4 separate regions of the Homo sapiens genome follow, and all the other regions are linked to region 4. Evidence: promoter capture Hi-C in 16 types of primary human blood cells and fetal thymus (Javierre and others, 2016). All regions are on one chromosome and are shown on one strand. The core of a region is centred on a gene start or on the middle of the fragment in contact, and the rest is flanking DNA. Distances in the headings are between cores, read along the strand shown. Region 1 overlaps RB1CC1 (RB1 inducible coiled-coil 1). Region 2 holds the start of RAB2A (RAB2A, member RAS oncogene family). Region 3 overlaps PCMTD1 (protein-L-isoaspartate (D-aspartate) O-methyltransferase domain containing 1). Region 4 holds the start of TMEM68 (transmembrane protein 68).

What was found. Contacts are between HindIII fragments. The CHiCAGO score rates a contact against its expected background, and 5 or more counts as called.
Region 1: a contact is called between a fragment that was not itself captured here and the fragment with the promoter of TMEM68 in region 4, in 1 of 17 cell types (total CD4 T cells). The highest score is 7.9, in total CD4 T cells.
Region 2: a contact is called between the fragment with the promoter of RAB2A here and the fragment with the promoter of TMEM68 in region 4, in 1 of 17 cell types (non-activated CD4 T cells). The highest score is 6.0, in non-activated CD4 T cells.
Region 3: a fragment that was not itself captured here is called in contact with the fragment with the promoter of TMEM68 in region 4 in 1 of 17 cell types (non-activated CD4 T cells); the score reaches 6.0 in non-activated CD4 T cells.

The regions. Positions count from the first base shown.
Region 1 is chr8:52,706,097-52,710,465 of GRCh38, reverse strand. All of the region lies in intron 1 of RB1CC1 (RB1 inducible coiled-coil 1), which reads left to right. Among named protein-coding and RNA genes, the nearest start is that of RB1CC1, 6.2 kb to the left of the region's middle. RefSeq lists silencers at 2,606-2,765, 2,776-2,825. The HindIII fragment of the contact is 900 bases long and covers 1,537-2,436 here.
Region 2 is chr8:60,514,447-60,518,469 of GRCh38, reverse strand. It overlaps RAB2A (RAB2A, member RAS oncogene family), which reads right to left and starts at 1,483. Exons shown (of 8, transcript NM_002865.3): 1 at 1,217-1,483. The coding sequence starts at 1,262. LOC124901949 (a long non-coding RNA gene) reads right to left here. Exons shown (of 3, transcript XR_007060922.1): 3 at 1,672-4,023. RefSeq lists enhancers at 50-239, 1,475-2,335 and a silencer at 1,030-1,899. The HindIII fragment of the contact is 4,226 bases long and covers 1-3,822 here.
Region 3 is chr8:51,887,512-51,891,874 of GRCh38, reverse strand. The region is part of intron 1 of PCMTD1 (protein-L-isoaspartate (D-aspartate) O-methyltransferase domain containing 1); the gene reads left to right. Among named protein-coding and RNA genes, the nearest start is that of PCMTD1, 9.3 kb to the left of the region's middle. The HindIII fragment of the contact is 811 bases long and covers 2,537-3,347 here.
Region 4 is chr8:55,771,052-55,775,300 of GRCh38, reverse strand. It overlaps TMEM68 (transmembrane protein 68), which reads left to right and starts at 1,923. Exons shown (of 8, transcript NM_001286657.2): 1 at 1,923-2,032. TGS1 (trimethylguanosine synthase 1) reads right to left here and starts at 1,855. Exons shown (of 13, transcript NM_024831.8): 1 at 1,582-1,855. The coding sequence starts at 1,682. RefSeq lists enhancers at 1,417-1,746, 2,518-3,021 and silencers at 1,887-2,076, 2,167-2,296. The HindIII fragment of the contact is 10,724 bases long and covers 1-3,375 here.

The DNA of each region.
Region 1 (4,369 bases), core at 737-3,236, 3.1 Mb after region 4:
TACACCTAGGGAAAAAAACCTGAAGGGTGTACTCCAAAGTATTTTTCATTTTTGTTTTAAAAGTATTCCTGTTCTGCTATTTTTACCTCATTTGCTGTCTTTGGGCACTACCTTTCTAAATGCTCGCTTCATTCTTTTGGCGAAGTTGCTTGTCTAGTTTGTAGACAAGGCGTATATTTAGGAAGTCTGAACTTTTATGAAAAAGGTTTTCTTTCAGGGAAATGTGAGGAAAATGCCTGACCTACTCATCTTTCATTCTTTTTCTTGGCAGAGAAGGGGTAGGATCAGATTAGAATACATCTGATTTGGGGAGACTGATGCCCAGTTTTCAGTCCCTGGGCAACCTAGACACTCCGTTTGTGGTGGACATTATCTCCATTGATGCAGTAGCCCGTGACCCCTCAATGAGGGAGAATTGCTAATAATTGCAGTTTACAGAATTAGAGATCAGGCAAAATTATTTCCAATCATCTTTTCTCTGAAGCTTTTAGTCCACTTTAGGGTTATCTGAGTCTCATGTGTTCTATTCAGCTGGAAAGCATCTTGAAGATATTTGTATTCCAGGCACCTAGCAGTGTCTGGCTTATGTTTAGATGCCCCCAAAATAGTGGATGAATAATGAATGTGTCCAGTTTTGAAGGTCAGAGATTGTCATTGGGGTGTCCCCCTTTCACCTTATCATATAAGGAAGCGAATTCTGTTTTGTTTGTTTGTTTTTGTTTTTTAAGGCAGAGTCTTACTTTGTCGCCCAGGCAGGCGACAGGCAATGGTGTGATCTAGGCTCACTACAACCACTGCCTCGTGGGCTCAGATGATCCTCCCACTTCAGCCTCCCAGTAGGTGGGATTACAGGCATGCACTACCACTGCCAACTAATTCTTGTATTCTTAGTAGAGACGGGGTTTCACCATGTTTCCCAGGCTGGTCTTGAACTCCTGGCCTGAAGTGAGCCACCCACCTCGGCCTCCCAAAGTGCTGGGATTACAGGCAGGAGCCACTGTGTCTGGCCTAATTCTAAGTTTTGACTGTATTAGAATAGTTGACAGTAAGGCTGGGATAATTGACTTTATCATCATGATAATCTCTCGAGAAAATTGTAAATCTCCACTTGATAAGTTGGATAGATTTTAATGAGTATGTGAGATACTTTCTGGTTCTTTTCCTCAAATATGGATATATATGGGTTCAGTTGTTATTCCTGTACATCTGGAAACAAATGCAGTGGGATCAATATATTTTTATTTTTATTTATTTTTTTGAGATGGAGTTTCACTCTTGTTGCCCAGGCTGGAGTGCAATGGCATGATCTCAGCTGACCGCAACCTCTGACTCCCGGGTTCAAGCGAGTCTCCTGCCTCAGCCTCCTGAGTAGCTGGGATTACAGGCATGTGCTACCACACTCAGATAATTTTGTGTTTTTAGTAGAAATGGGGTTTATCCATGTTGGTCAGGCTGGTCTCAAACTCGCGACCTCAGGTGATCTGTCCGCCTCTGCCTCCCAAAGTGCTGGGTGGCATATAAAGTGGACTAAAAGCTTCAGAGAGAAAAGATGATTAGAAATAATTTTGCCTGATCCCTAGTTCTGTAAACTGCAGTTATTAGCAATTCTCCCTCATTGAGGGGTCACGGGCTACTACCGCATCAATGGAGATAATGTCCACCACCCTGTCGGATCAATATTTTTTAAAATACAGCTCTCTTCTCCCCTTCATTTATAGCTGACTGTATCCTAGGAGGATTTAGGAGGACCAGATGTCCTCATAATGAGAGATAGGTTTTTCCCCCCAGATAAGAGAATTCCTGCTACCTTATATTAACTACTTAAGAGTTCTGTAAATTCAGAGAAAGGAGAAAGAATACTATAGGCCACCTGTGATAAGGGAAGACTTCCCAGAAGTGGTAATAGGACAATACTTGGACTTTTGTTTGTTTGTTTGTTTGTTTGTTTTTGAGACGAGTCTCGCTCTGTTGCCCAGGCTGGAGTGCAGTGGTGTGATCTCAACTTACTGCAAGCTCCGCCTCCTGGGTTCACGCCATTCTCCCACCTCAGCCTCCCAAGCAGCTGGGACTACAGGCATCCGCCACCATGCCCGGCTAATTTTTTTGTATTTTTAGCAGAGACGGGGTTTCACTGTGTTAGCCAGGATGGTCTCGATCTCCTTACCTTGTGATCCACCCGCCTCAGCCTCCCAAAGTGCTGGGATTACAGGCGTGAGCCAGTGTGCCCGGCAATACTTTGACTTTTAAAGATGAGTAAAATTCAGATCAGCAAAGATGGGGGTATTTTACCTGGCAGGAGTATGTAAAGTGAGGGTATAGGTTTGTCATGTAAGGGAGTAGTTGATGATACTGCTACAAAAATAAACTGGGGTTAATTATGAAGTTCTTGAGTGCTGGAGTTTAATTAAAGTCATAATTGCCACCATTTTTAAAGCTTTTAGTATATTCCTAGCACCGTAAAGGACTCTGAAGTACATTATTGCTATCCTTCTCATCTCTGTGAAAGGTATCGTTGCAATTTATAGATTGTCAACTGATATGTGGAGGTTACCTGAGCCTCAGTGAGATAGATGGTATTCAAATACAAGTAAATTTTGTTCCTAAGTCTGCCATTTTTATGTTAATCTAGCCTATATCAAGTTGGCAAATTCACATGCTAAGAGGGGTGGGCAGATAGTACAATTAAGTGAAACTGTCTGAGTACTGAACCGGAGGTGACAAAGAGAGTGTAGCTGTAAAGAAACTACAGATTTGTGCCCTGCTGTAGGCAACAGTAAGGTGCTAGGGAAGATACTTGAGGGAAGCAGCCTGACTACCTTGGTTGTAACTGGTAGGGAGTATTTAGGAAGGATTGAAGCCGGATAGAGATTTAAAGACAGAGAGAAGAGGTTGCAGTTTCCTAAGTAAGGGTTATGTCATTGGAAAATGAGGGGTTGGATTAGAAAGGAAAAAAATGGGTAGGACTTGGACAGAAATAACTGAAGCCTGGTCCATTGTCACTTTGGAAAGTTTGTAAAAAAAAAAAAAAAAAAAGAAAGAAAGAAAAAGAAAAGAAAAATAACTGAAGTTTGGGGCAATAGTAGAATGATAGTTCATTGACAGTGAATAAATTAGGGAATAGATTTAAAGGAAAAGCACCGAATTTAAATTTGGACATGTTGAGTTTGAGGTAACAGTAGGATTTCCAGCTGGAAATATGAAGCATCAGTTACTGCTAGCTCTAAACTCAGAACAGAGATCTGGATTAGTTAATAACAGTAATTGATGTTTGTATTTCACTTTATGGTTTACATAACTTCCATATATGTATAGATTATTCGTTAGATCCTGACCACAACCCTGTGAGACAGGTACTTTTACTTTTTGTAATCAAATGAAAAAACTTGTTAGGTGAAGTCAGTTCAGGTCACATTGGGCCAGGACTTGAATATACTTCTTTTGATTCCAAATCTCATGTTCTTTTCACAGTTCTGTTCTCCCTCTTATGTTTACATAAAGATAACAATTGGGGCGTGGTGACTCATGCCTGTATTCCCAGAACTTTGGGAGGCTGAGGCAGACAGATCACTTGGGGTCAGGAGTTTGAGACCAGCCTGGCCAGCATGGCGAAACCCTGTCTCTACTAAAAATACAAAAAAAATTAGCTGGGTGTGGTGGTGGGTGCCTATAATCCCAGCTACTCTGGAGGCTGAGGAGAGAGAATCTCTCTCTCTCTTTTTTTTTTTTTTTTGAAACAGAGGGAGTCTCGTTCTGTAGCCCAGGCTAGAGTGCAGTGGCGAGATCTCGGCTTACTGCAAGCTCCGCCTCCTGGGTTCACGCCATTCTCCTGCCTCAGCCTCCCGAGTAGCTGGGACTACAGGTGCCTGCCACCACGCCCGGCTAATTTTTTGTATTTTTAGTAGAGACGGGGTTTCACTGTGTTAGCCAGGATGGTCTCAATCTCCTGACCTCATGATCCGCCTGCCTCGGCCTCCCAAAGGAGAATCTCTTGAACCTGGGAGGCGGAGGCTACAACGAGCTGAAGGCTGCAGTGAGCGGAGATCGCACCACTGCACCCAGCCCCTAGGTGACTGAGTGAAAGTCCATCTCAAAAAAAAAAAAAAAGATAACAGTTGGAAGACTAAACATGAATGACCATTTAGGGAAGGCTATATTTAGAATGGGAGTGGGGCAGAACTCCCCTAGGACCTCAGATTGGGACTGAAATAGGGAAGGCTGGTGGGAATCTTTGTCTTGCTCTCTTGGTGGGACTAACTCTTTTGGTGCAACAAATTCAGGTTCTTTATTTCTTTGTAATGTATAGGGTGTCATCTTTTTTTTTTAATGGATATGTGTTTTTCCCCTCTAATTATAAATGTGATTTTTAAAA
Region 2 (4,023 bases), core at 234-2,733, 4.7 Mb before region 4:
TGGCCAAGCAGGTCTCGAACTCCTGATCTCAGGTGATCCCCCACCTCGGCCTCCGAAAGTGCTGGGATTACAGGTGTGAGCCACCGCGTCCGGCCAACATGCTTCTTTAGTTACTTATAGAACCTGCCACATCATTAGTTCAACTACAAACTGCTGCTTACATGACCGAAGTTGTGCAAAGGGTCCAAAGTTGTGCAAGAGTAACCACTGAAATCAGACTCTGGTATATTAATAGTTGCAACATCTAAACAATCTTTATGTTTATTATTAGATTCAAAGTAATGCCAAATCACAGGTATTAAAAATATCTACGAAGAGTCTGTTTACTTTTCTGTGAAATATACTAGGACGTCATTTTAAGTGAGAATAACTGAATTTCTTTCAGCTCATGGACATGAGCTCACCTGAAAATTAGCAGTTGTGACACCGGACTTGACATATCTAAAACATCAGCGTCCTCAACATACACATACCTAAGTACACACCCAGAGCACTGAACGACTTTACATTACTATATAACCCCAGTTCACACGTGGCAAAAGTCCACAGAACTCGTTCATGCTTTCCTAACCCCGAAAGGGATTCTCCAGCCGTCAAGTAATGAGATGTGACTTATTCTGACGTGAGAGTTGAAGGTGTTAAAAAAGCATATTTTATATATATGTATATATATAAAATACATATTTTAAAGGTTTCCTTTTCTCTTTCTCGGCTGCCTGTCCCACGCCAAAAAGCGCCTTGCCCAGGCCTTGATAGATGCGTGCTGGTGGAGGAAGGTTGGACTGGTCAGGAACCAAGACCCGGGCCCCAACACCTTCTGCTCCCCTAGGTTTCCCTCCTTCTTTTTCCTGGGGCCGCGAAGAGACCTAACGCAAGGGGCCCTGGGGGTGGGGTGCAGTCATGTGAGTCGGGCCCCGGCGGCCCTGCGCTAGGCCTCCCCTCCTGTCACACACTTCCTGAATCGGGCGTCGCAAACGGCTGCCACGGCCCTCAGCTGCAAGACTGGCCGGGTCGGGGGCCGCAGACCGGGCCTGGCCAGGCCGCGGCCGCTCGCAGTGCCCACGTCACCAGCTCCAGCACTGCGGAAATGGAGCGGCGCGGCCAGGAGGGAGGCGCCGGGTGGAGTCCGCGTCCCCGCCACCGCCAGACGCCGTTTGCCCCTCAGCCCGGGTCCGGAGGCCGCCGACACCCGCCCGGCCGCGCCCGGGGCCCTCACCTGTGTCGCCGATTATGATGTACTTGAAGAGATAGGCGTACGCCATGGCCGCGGCCGCTCAGTGCCAGGGCACACGGCTCCTCCTCCCGCTGCTGCTCCTCCTCCGCGCCCCAACCCCGGTGCCGCTCAGCCTCGAAACGCCAGGCGCCGCCCGCCGCCGCCGCTGCTGCTGTCAGCCGCCGGGAGTGAGGGGCTGTGAGGAAGCCGGACGAACTGACACCCGCAGAGCCGAGGGAGACAGCGCCCGACCGAGCCCAGCCGAACAATAACAGCCGCCGCGGCGCCTCCGCCCCGCCTCCGCGCCGACCCGGAAGTTCTGCGGCCGCCGGCGCCGCCGGAGGAAAGGGGAGGAGCCCCGCACGCTGGCCCAGCCCTGCACGCTGGCCGCGCCCCGCCAGCCGGAGCCCCGCCCCGCCCCGCCCCGCGCCTGCCTTGCCCGGTCCGCCCTGTCTTCCAGCAGGGCGGGGCCCGGCTCCGGTTGTTCCGCCACGTTTGAGCGGGCGAGCCCGGCGGCCGGGAGACGCCAGGGAACGGGGCTGGTGGGGGTACAAAGGCTCGGTTCCGTCGCCTTCAGCCCTGCGGTGGGGGCACGGGGCAAGTGAGGGGACGGCAGAGGCGGCGTTCGGTGTGAGGCTGCGCCCTGGGCTCCTGAAAATGTGTGTGAAAATGTGGGAGGCACACGGCGAGGGGGTGGGGGTGGCCTGGTATTTCTGTGTTTGGCATCGGGGCTTGAAGGTGAAAATGGCAGTATTTATAAATTGGAAACCGTAAATCTGGGACTGCAAAGTAAATCATGGTATGCACGCACAGTGGAGTACTACGTTGCTCTCACCTGAGGTCAGGAGTTCGAGACCAGCCTGGCCAACATGGCGAAACCGCGTCTCTACTAAAAATACATTAGCCGGGCGTGGTGGTGCTCGCCTGTAATCCCAGCTACTCGGAGTCTAAGGCAGGAGAATCACTTGAACCTGGGAGGTGGAGGTTGTAGTGAGCCGAGATTGAACCACGGCACTCCAGACTGGGCGACAGAGCGGGACTCCGTCTCAAAATAATAATAGTAAATAAAAAATAAATAAAGTCTCTGAACCTGTCCTGGTTCTGAGGGCTGCTCTAAAAAAAAAAAAAAAAAAAAAGCCTGACTTAGGTTAAGCAAAACCGAGATGATCTGTTTATGTGTGTGTATATAACATGCACCATATGTAATATATGAATTGTATATAATTTTTATGTGTAACAAATAGTGGGAAAACATTTACATACCCATATATGCATAATCAATCTGAAAGGAAAGCTAACTGGTATTAAGAGAAAGGAGGGAATGGGATTGGGGGGAAAATGTACTTTTCCCTGAATTTTTTTGTGCAGTTTGACATTTTTTGCAGTGTTCATGAGTTACCTATTAGGAAATACTGTTAAAGGAAAAAACAAAATGACTGTGCATTCAAAGAATAGTTATTGAATACTATGTTTCATGTACCGCCAGGCACAGCAACTGGAGGCCCTGTATGTTCTATGTTCTGTTTTTCTACTTTGCTTTTTCAGTCATCCAGCCCAAAATGTCACCACTCTGTTCAAAAAGACCACAGGTTATGGAAGAGGAGGTGGAGAATAGGGTGTCAGGAAAGGTTACTTAGAGATTATGATTTCTGAGCCAGGAATATGAATTATGTATAGAGTTTGTCGAAAGAACAACAGTTTGGGGAGGGGAACCAAAGTTTATGGACAAGGAACAGAATGTGCAAAATTCCTGGATCTGTTCAGGGAATTTGAAGTTGCATAAGGAAGCTAATTGACTAACTCATATCCTCATAACCCATAACCTCATATTGAAGGAGAATCATTGCTGGGGAAAAGCGATTGGGATTTAGTGGCCCTCGTTCCTGTTGCCTAATACTCTTCTCTTTGGGGCCTCTCATTATGTAATTAGTACTGACACCATCATGCTGGGTTGCTAACATGCTTTGGATGGCCTTGCCAAATATGAACTCACAAGGTTTTTCTGGAATATTTGGAGGGGATTTTACTAAAGGGTCAGAGATGGCACGGAAGAATTTGACATGAAAATTTGACATGAAAAGCTACCTGGAATCGCAAAATTTGGTTCATTCACCTTTAGTTTGAGGAAGGGGAGGTCCCTGCCCAAGGCCTCCAGTTTTCAGATGTCATTTTGTCCCTCCCACTTGAGTGCCTTCACCCAAGTCTTCCTTGGTGATGGAGAAACTCAAGTCTTCACTCTCACAAGATAGAGGGATGTGGCCTTCCTTCACCAGCACAACTCTATTAGGATGTTATACAAATGCCTGGCATCCTAGGAGTCAGGAGTATTCCTACACTGTTAGAGGAGGAGAGTACCTGGAGAGGTCTCTTGTGCCAGGTTATGTAGGGCCTTGTATGTTATGTCACCATGCATTTAGAACTTTACTTAGTAGACAAAGGAAATTGTGACAGGAAATGGTCAGAACTGGGTATGTAACAAAAATCATAGAAATGGATATAAAGCTATAGAGGCAATGTGTTATAAGGAAAATAGGATACCTGGCTTCTGGTCTTGGCTCTACCTGTAACTGATCGGATGAATGTGAGGAATCGTTTGGCCTCTTAAAGCTTCAGAGCACAGGTTGCGATGGCTTGTGCCTGCGGTCCCAGCTACTTGGGAGGCTGAAGAGGGAGGATAGCTTGAGCCAAGCAGTTTGAGGCAGCAGTGAGCTAGGATGGTGCGACTGCACTCCAGCTTGGGCTATAGATTGAGACCTTGTGTCTTAATAAATAAAATAATTATTAAAATAAAAATAATTTAAAAAATTATG
Region 3 (4,363 bases), core at 1,693-4,192, 3.9 Mb after region 4:
GTGGTGGGATACCAGGTAATTATATAGTGAATGTTCTTTGATTCCTTTAGATCCAAGGGGGCTGTAAATACACACTGTTAATTGTGTAAACTGTACTACCTATTTAGCCTCTGTAGCTAGTTTATCAGGTTATTTCTACAGATCATTTAAGGTTTCTGAAGCTATATATATATATATACATATATATGTATATATATATTTTTTGTTTTTTTTTTTAACTAGTGGCATATAATTTACTGAATAATGATATATTCTCTTTATTTTCCAGGCATTCTATGCTAAATTTGGGATTTGAGTGTTTTTTTGTTTTCTTTTTTTTGAGACAGGGCCTCGCTGTGTCACCCAGCCTGGAGTGCAGTAGTGCGATCTCGGCTCACTGCATCCTCCACCTCCTGACCTCGAGCAATCCAACCTCAACCTCACCAGTAGCTGGGATTACAGGCATGTGCCACGATGCCCGGCTAATTGTTTTTTTCTTTCATTTTTTGTAGAGATAGGTGTCTCAGTATGTTGCCCAGGCTTGTCTCAAAGTCATGGGCTCAAGCCATCCTCCTGCCTTGTCCTCCCAAAGTGGATTAGAGGAGAAAGCTACCTTGCCCGGCCTCATGTCATTTATTTTTAGGGTGGTATGTGTATGCTGCCTAGGTTCATATGGTTTAGATTTATTTTTAACAGTGGTTCATTTGCACTGACCCATTTCTGAGCTCCTGCGATTCTCTTTGGTCAATTATACTTCCCTAGATATTGTGAACATAATAAGTAAAAGCTCATTTATTTGATTTTGCTTTTTTCCCTGTATAACAGCAGTAGAAATTTATTGTGGAAAGACTAGAAAATATGGATAAAGAAAAGGAGAAACAGGTTAACGGGGATGTTATCACCTGAGGCTCGTATGGTTTTTAATTCTGAGGGACCTCTGTGTTAATGAAAACACCACTAGAAATGTCCAGCTTTGTAAGTCCTTCTGCCATGTAATCCTGTGGCAGATGTATTTGGTGATAGAAGTATGGAAAATGTGAGTGCTTGCATTTTCTCTGACCTGGATGCATCTGTGCTAGGAAGTGGTGTTTTAAGTAACCAAGGTTGTGTTAAGGCCTTGACTTAATGTTATTAGGGGATTTCTACATTTATACTGCCAAGCACATGGGTGTTTAGCTGTTGGTTATGGGAGCCACAGGTGTGCTGGTGGATGGATCAGTCGGTGCTTCTCTGTCACTGCTACTGCGTAAGTAGTGCAGAGGTTTTGTTCTGATTATGTATCATTATATCTTTGTAGTCCATATTTAAAATACTGGGCCTTGAGTAGAAGGAACTATTTAGAAATGTCATAGCTCAAAAAGCAAATGCAAAACAGTCTTTGTTTTAGAAGGATGGTTTATCCCTGTTACTCCTGTAAGTCTCGGTATTCTAAATTTTCATGTTTTCATTGTAGTGTCTTGGCGGCTAGAGCGGATTTTAAATTTTCTGGTCAGTCTTCATACTCAACTGGATAAGAACAAATTTTGGAACATGCAAAGGCAGTCACTCTAATTTTAGTTTCAAGGAAAAGCCTAGCAGTGATATATACTGATTTACCAGGCATTGTAAATCCCATTGTGAAAGAATTATTTTAAATACATCTAAACCGTTTTTAATAGGCTTGACTTTTCCCTGTAAATAGAGTAATTTGAACCTTTATTCTTTTATGAACCAGAGAAATTAGAAATAGATGTAGGCATTTCTACAATGATCTATATAAATATCTGTGAATATAACCATTCATGCAGTTGATTTGGCTTTAAAGAAAAGGGAGGTAATCACCATGGACTTAAAGTAGTTTAATTACCTCATTATTTATGACAAAAAGGCTTTATATAAGCTTTTTTTTTTTTTTTTGTTAAGGACTTGTTCAGTTATCACTGTTTAGTTATCACTGGTTTTATTGTATCTAGGCAGCACAATAAAATTAATTCACTTCACACTAATATATATTTTTGTGTGTACACACACACACACACACACACACACACGTATATCCTTACATATGGCCATTTGTGGTGCACAGCTCAGGAGACACTATTAACATAGAATCTAATATAAATGACATTCCCTTTACTGCTTCAGGAAAACTGACACTTTATGTGGGAATAGTGCTTCCTGGCATTGTGTAGTCAGCATGAGACCCTGTTAAATTTGATACTTTCCACATTTTCACATTTTCGTATAACTTTGCATCTTGTCAAAGAGGTAGGAAAGTATTGTTATTCCCATTTTATAGATGCATGAACTAAGACTCAGAATGACTTCAGTTTCCTCAGTCTGCTTTATTTTCTATAAAATGATGATACCAGACTCAGCAATCAACAGTGTTGAGGGACACAGGGTTTGGTGTCAGATAGATCTAGAACTCAACCTCAGTTTTGCCTCCTACTAGCTGTAAAAGCTTAAGGAAGTTATTTAATCCCTTTCCTTCGTTTCCCATCCCTAAAAATAATGCTGTTACATGAAATTTTATGAAGACTTAAATGAGTTAATATACTTAAAACACCTCAAAGCTTTATGCTGTAAGTGCTCAATTAATGATAGTTGCATTAATAATCAGTAATAAAGGTTATATATTATTTTGTGAGTCGTATACTACTTTTCAGAGATTATGAGGTCAGTTAACACTTGATAGAAAGTGACGGACCTAACCTAGAAGCAATATCCGTTTTAAGTAGAGGCCAAACTTGGACTGATAACCTCATGCTCTCTTACCAATATTGTAGGCAGTGAGTGAGGAGTTAACAATAACAACAAAAGGCCTAGGAAAAGCAAGGAGAATGTGTCCTATATAGTCAGGGACAGACTTTGGAGTCACACTAGACCCACCATAGTTGTGTGTAAAATAAAGCAGATTTGAATCATCTAGTCACACAAAAAAGAAACGAGAAGTTACTGCAGTGAGAGAGCAAAGCAGTTCCAGATGGTGGAATGCTTTTACTGTGTGTGTTGGTCTCTGAGGTGCTCGTGACATACCATTATCATACTGTTCCTCATAATGACCCTCAGCCACTAAGAAATGGTTGAGTTATGCGGGATAATTTGCTAAGACTGTAGAACTAATACACTATATAAAGACTTTCATTACTTTGTTTTTAATCTTTGCAACTTAAAGGAGTATTTTTCAGTTACCAGTAACATTAATTTGTTTTACTCGGTGCTAGATAAAAATGACTAAATTTGAATGTGCACATTATTTCATTTGATTCTTAAAACTAAGTAGGTCATAGAAAGGTTAATGGCCAATGGTAAAATAAAGGCTATGAGTTCAGACTTTCATGCATATATTTGATTCTGGGTCTCTTTCTCATTGTTAACCCAAAGCTTATTTATAAAGGTCAGGGCCTGCTTGTTTGTTTTCATACCCTTTAGTGCCTTCTACTGTGGGAGCATTACGAAAATCAGGTCCTGCTCCTAAATGTCTTAATATTTTGTTATCTAGTGTATCTTCCCATTCATTTTTTTGTGATACACAAAAGTCATTTACCTGAAGGGGAATCTATTTTTAAAAGGATGCTCCCTCTTGAGGCCAACCTGGAATCCTCCTGCATTGAATTGACAATTTTGAATCTGCTACTATATCCTGTTGGATGTCAACAGCTAAGGAAAGGTATGGACCATCATATACAGGGTCTTACTCTATTGAACTGAACTTCTGTAAGCACTCAGAATGAATCTATATGGTAGCTTTCTACTACCCTAAAAGTAAGGTCAGGAGTTAGGAATGAACTCTAAACAGTTTTAAACTTGAAGTTTATATTTAGGCACAGTTTCTTCTAATAGAGTAAGATATTAGAAATTATGAAAACTTGGCCGGGCACGGTGGCTCATGCCTGTAATCCCAGCACTTTTGGAGGCCGAGGTGGGCGGATCACGAGGTCAAGAGATTGAGACCATCCTGGCCAACATGGTGAAACTCCGTCTCTACTAAAAATACAAAAAAATTAGCTGAGTGTGGTTGGCACGTGCCTGTAATCCCAGCTACTTGAGAGGCTGAGGCAGGAGAATCGCTTGAACCCGGGAGGCAGAGGTTGCAGTGAGCTGAGATCGTGCCACTGCACTCCAGCCTGGTGACAGAGCAAGACTCTGTCTCAAAAAAAAAAAAAAAGAAATTATGAAAACTTTTTTGTGAAACTGTTCTCAAATATTGGGACTGAGCGTACTCTTTTTTTTTTTTAATTTATTTTAAACGAGGAAAATGATTGCATGGCTTGATAATTACCATACCAAATGATTGATAGTTTTGTTTTTTTGCAGTTTCTAGTTGCTACTTAAAATTGAGTTTCAGGGTGTTCAGTTAGTTTATACATAGTTATTGCTTTAGTTAGAGGATTTTAGACTA
Region 4 (4,249 bases), core at 674-3,173:
CCTATCTTCTTTCTTTCCCAGTTTTTTTTCTTTTCTTTCTTTTCTTTTCTTTTTTTTTTTCGGGACAGAGTCTTGCTCTGTCATCCAGGCACGACAATGGCTAACTGCAGCCTGGATCTCCTGGGCTCAAGAGAGCATCTGGCCCAAGCCTCCAGAGTAGCTGGGACTACAAGCATGTGCCACCACAGCTGGCTAATTTTAAAAAAAAATTTCAGTACAGATGAGGTGTTGTTATGTTGCCCAGGCTAGTCTCCAACTTCCGGGCTCAAGTGATCCTCACTCCTCGGCCTCCTAAAGTGGTGGGATTACAGGTGTGCACCACCGTGCCCTCCCTCCCAGCCATTTTGTTCAGTTTCCCAGGCTTTCTTTTGCTCCCTCAAGGCCTTTACTGAGTTCAGCCTGCAGAGAACGCTTTCTCCCACTGAAACTCACCCCAATTTATCCCCCTTAGACCTCTTTCCAAAAGCTACTTCCTCAAAGAAACCTCTGTGACCCTTGGAAAGTTATTTGTTTTCACAGCATCCTGCACTTCTCTCTCATAGCACTTATAACTATAATCAACCAAGTAATAATGTAACCAGTTATCTTAATATTGATCTTCTCTGCTAGGAAGTAAACTCAATACATGTAAGGACAGAATGTCTTGTACCTCAGTGCCTACCAGCATACTTGATATACAAGAGCACAAAAAACATTTTCTGAATGATTGTATGACTACATGCATGCCTGACTAAAAAGGCGACAATACTTTTTACATTAAATTTAACAAGTTTAACTTCTTTTTGCGTTTTCAAATTACTCCACAAAATTACACGAGAAAAATGAATTCCTTCAAACTTAAATCCTACTATATTAAACTATATTAAAAGTCTATCACATAAAATTCACTTCCACAAGGATTTAACTCTAACAAAATAAGCATGTGAGATTAAATATACCCGTTATAGAGATGAAAAAAAGGTTCAAGTGGTTTAACTCACGCATTTAATATAAAGGAAACAATTCCTAGAATTCAAGTCTCTTGGCGGTATTATTCCTGCATACTAGCTATTTTTCATGTGGGGCAATTTTTACCTGATTCAAAGATTTCCCCAAAATAAAGATATCACAAAAACTGATGTAAATATGGTTAAGTCTTTTATCTCAACTAGTTTGAAGTTTTAATTATGTGCATTTGGGCTTAAGTAGATTTTTAGGTTTAAAAAAAGACGTTAACCAAAGCAAGTCACTCAACTTTAAACTTTCACTTTATGACATCATATCTACTAGAGATTTCATTTTACATGTCGCTTTCCCCCAATTTTTAAATGTCCCCTCGATTTACAAATATGAGATGACATATAGCACCTACGACATTTTTTCATAGCAGCCTACCAAGTAGATGTAGTCCTTCACATAAAAATAATGGCAGTGGGCGACCACTCCGTCATGTCTGAGGGTTTTGTTTTTCTTAAACATCACCGTGCCCAAGGGTCAGATGTTCTGGCTGCTTTCAGGGATCAATTACAACCACGTTTGCAATACCTACATTTCTGGGTAATGACTGTGCTAGAACATGAAGAGATTCTCTTTTCTACTTACTCCACAAATGCCCTGGAGCAAAGGCACAGTATCTTACAATCCTCCCGCTCCTCAATGAAGAGAAACATTTCCGCCACGCGGCTCCACTTCTCGCAGCACATTTTACCACTTCGGAGGCAGCTCTGACGTACGCAGCCCGGGTCGCGCCTGCCGGGCCTCCGCTCGGTTACTGGAGACTTAAAACAGGCCTCGCCCGCAAGCCCTGGATGAGGAGATAGAAACTGGCCCGCGGCCGCTCGCGCCGGGAACTAGCCCGGACGCTGCCGCCGGAAGTGGCTCCGAGGGGCCACGGGAAGGGGCGGGACCACGGGCGGTGTCACCCCCATCGCGGCCCGGGCTGCAGCCGCCGCTTGGCTTCTTTCACACGGGTTGCTTCGGAGGAATCCGCCGTGCAAATCTGTCCGCCCCCTTGGCCACTGATCCCCCGAAGAGCTTCTGTCGCCGCTCTAGGGTAAAGGAGAGCTGCCCCTGCCCCTGCCCCCGCCTATCCGAGGTGCGTCGGCCCCCGCGCTTCTCCAGCCCGGCATCGGGTCTGGCGGGACTGGGAGCGGCGGAGGCCGCGCGCGTCCGGTCTCCCAGGAGCCGCCTCGGAATCCCCAGTCTCTTCGCGGGCAGGCTCGGCTTCCCGCCGGCCTCAGTGTTGCGCCCCAGCGCCAGAGTGGCCGGGTGTGGAGATCCTCCCTCCTCTGGGTCAAAGAGCCTGCTCTCCCCGCCCCTCTTCTCCCCTGGCGCTCTAAACCTTCGGTTCGGCGCGTTTCATCCTAATGCATCTGGTGGGGCGAGGCGTCTCTAGCCTCTGTAGAGGCCTCTAGGCTTGCCCAGTGGCTTCGCTGGTTCCGGGACCCAGGTCGAGCCTCCGGTGTAAAAGCCAAGGGGAAGTGTGTGGTGATCCCGAGAGTGTAGGGGGAAAGCCGCGTGGGTAGAGCGTTCGTATCCAGACCGATCAGGCTTGGAATCCTGGTCCTACCTTGTGACCTGGGCAGGCAACTTCACCTTTCTGAGCTTACCTTTGATCACCTGTGAAATGGGGTTGATTAATAGTAACTACTACATGAGGCTGCAGGGAGGACTAAACGAAATGATGTATATTACACCTTTCCTTTGTGCGCTTAATCGTTGGCGTCGGTTTGGACCTTGTAGGCGTTAAGTGCTGTCTCGGTCCCTGGGGTTTGCAGCCTGTAAAACAGGTCTCTGCCTTCAAGTTACTAATTATCTAATAAGAAAAAAGTTCATGTGGGCATAAATAGGATGGAGAAAATGGAAACAGCAGCGTTGCTGGATCTGTTAAAAAGCAGTTAGTATTTGGTGTGTGGTATTCATGGAGGCTGCACGGGCAACTTCTTCAGAGACAAGCTCAGACTTGAAAGTTGGAGCGCTTCGGACGTGGTTGGTGCTACGAAATGCCAAAATAGTATTGGTACTTCTTCAGAACTATATAAAAACTGAGCTAAAATTCATGCATTTTGAATGGTATTTTCAATAGTATTTTGGCCACATTTACTAGTTAGTGGAAATATTCATTTTCAAATGTTTATTCCCACCTCCTTACTGCTGCCCTACTTTGAGGTCGGAGATAGGCTGATTTTGTTGGTTCAAGAAGGTAAGAGTGCTGCACGGTTACAGATATACCAGTATAGATGTGCAGCATTATTGGGATGAGTAGCTGGGTTACGATAATAAGGGTAGAACAGTAATTATGAAACAGAGTGGAAGATTTTAGCTAGAAGTTGGGCATTCTAGGATTAAAGAAAAGTCTTGAAGGGTAATTTGTATCAGAACCTCGAGTTTAAAGCTTGAAATAAAAAAAGTATTAAAGCTAAAAGGATTAGATTTACCAGCTATCTTGACAAATACTAAATTGCAGCTTTATTCATGGTTTGAAGTAGAAGTCCTATTCAGTAAAACAGTGCTGTATCTCTGTTAAACCATTATTAAATATGCAGAAAGGAAACAGGAAAACTTGTTTTTCAGTGACTATATCTTTTAATTGGCATTTTCAGAATGTTCTCAATGTGACTTATATACTAAAAGTAAAATGGAAAAGTACTGGTAATGGGTGTTCAAAATAGATATACTTTATTTATTTATTTATTTATTTTTTTTGAGACAGGATCTTGCTCTGTCACCCAGGCTGTAGTGTAGTGGCGCGATCGCGGCTCACAGCAACCTCTACCTCCCAGGCTCAAGCAATCCTCCTACCTCAGCCCCCCGAGTAGCTGGGGCTACAGGCATGCCACCATGCCTGCCTAATTTTGTGTGTGTGTGTGTGTGTGTGTGTTTTGTAGAGACAAGGTTTTGCCATATTGCCCAGACTGGTCTTGAATTCTTGGGTTCAAGTGATTTGCCTGCCTCAGCCTCCCAAAGTGTTAGGATTATAGGCATGAGCCACTGAGCCCAGCCTAAAATAGATACACTTTCTTAAGGTTTTATTGAAAGCCAAAAAGTTCTCTGTTCTGATTTATTAGTTTTTGAAATACTCTGATTTTAAACATCTGTAAGGTCCATATCCTCACCATCAATGTCAATATGGTGATATTTGAGCTTGTCAACTTTTTTTTTTTTTTGGAGACGGAGATTCATTTTTGTTGCCTAGGCTGGAGTGCAATGGTGCGATCTTGGCTCACCGCAACTTCCGCCTCCTGGGTTCAAGCGATTTTCTGCCTCAGCC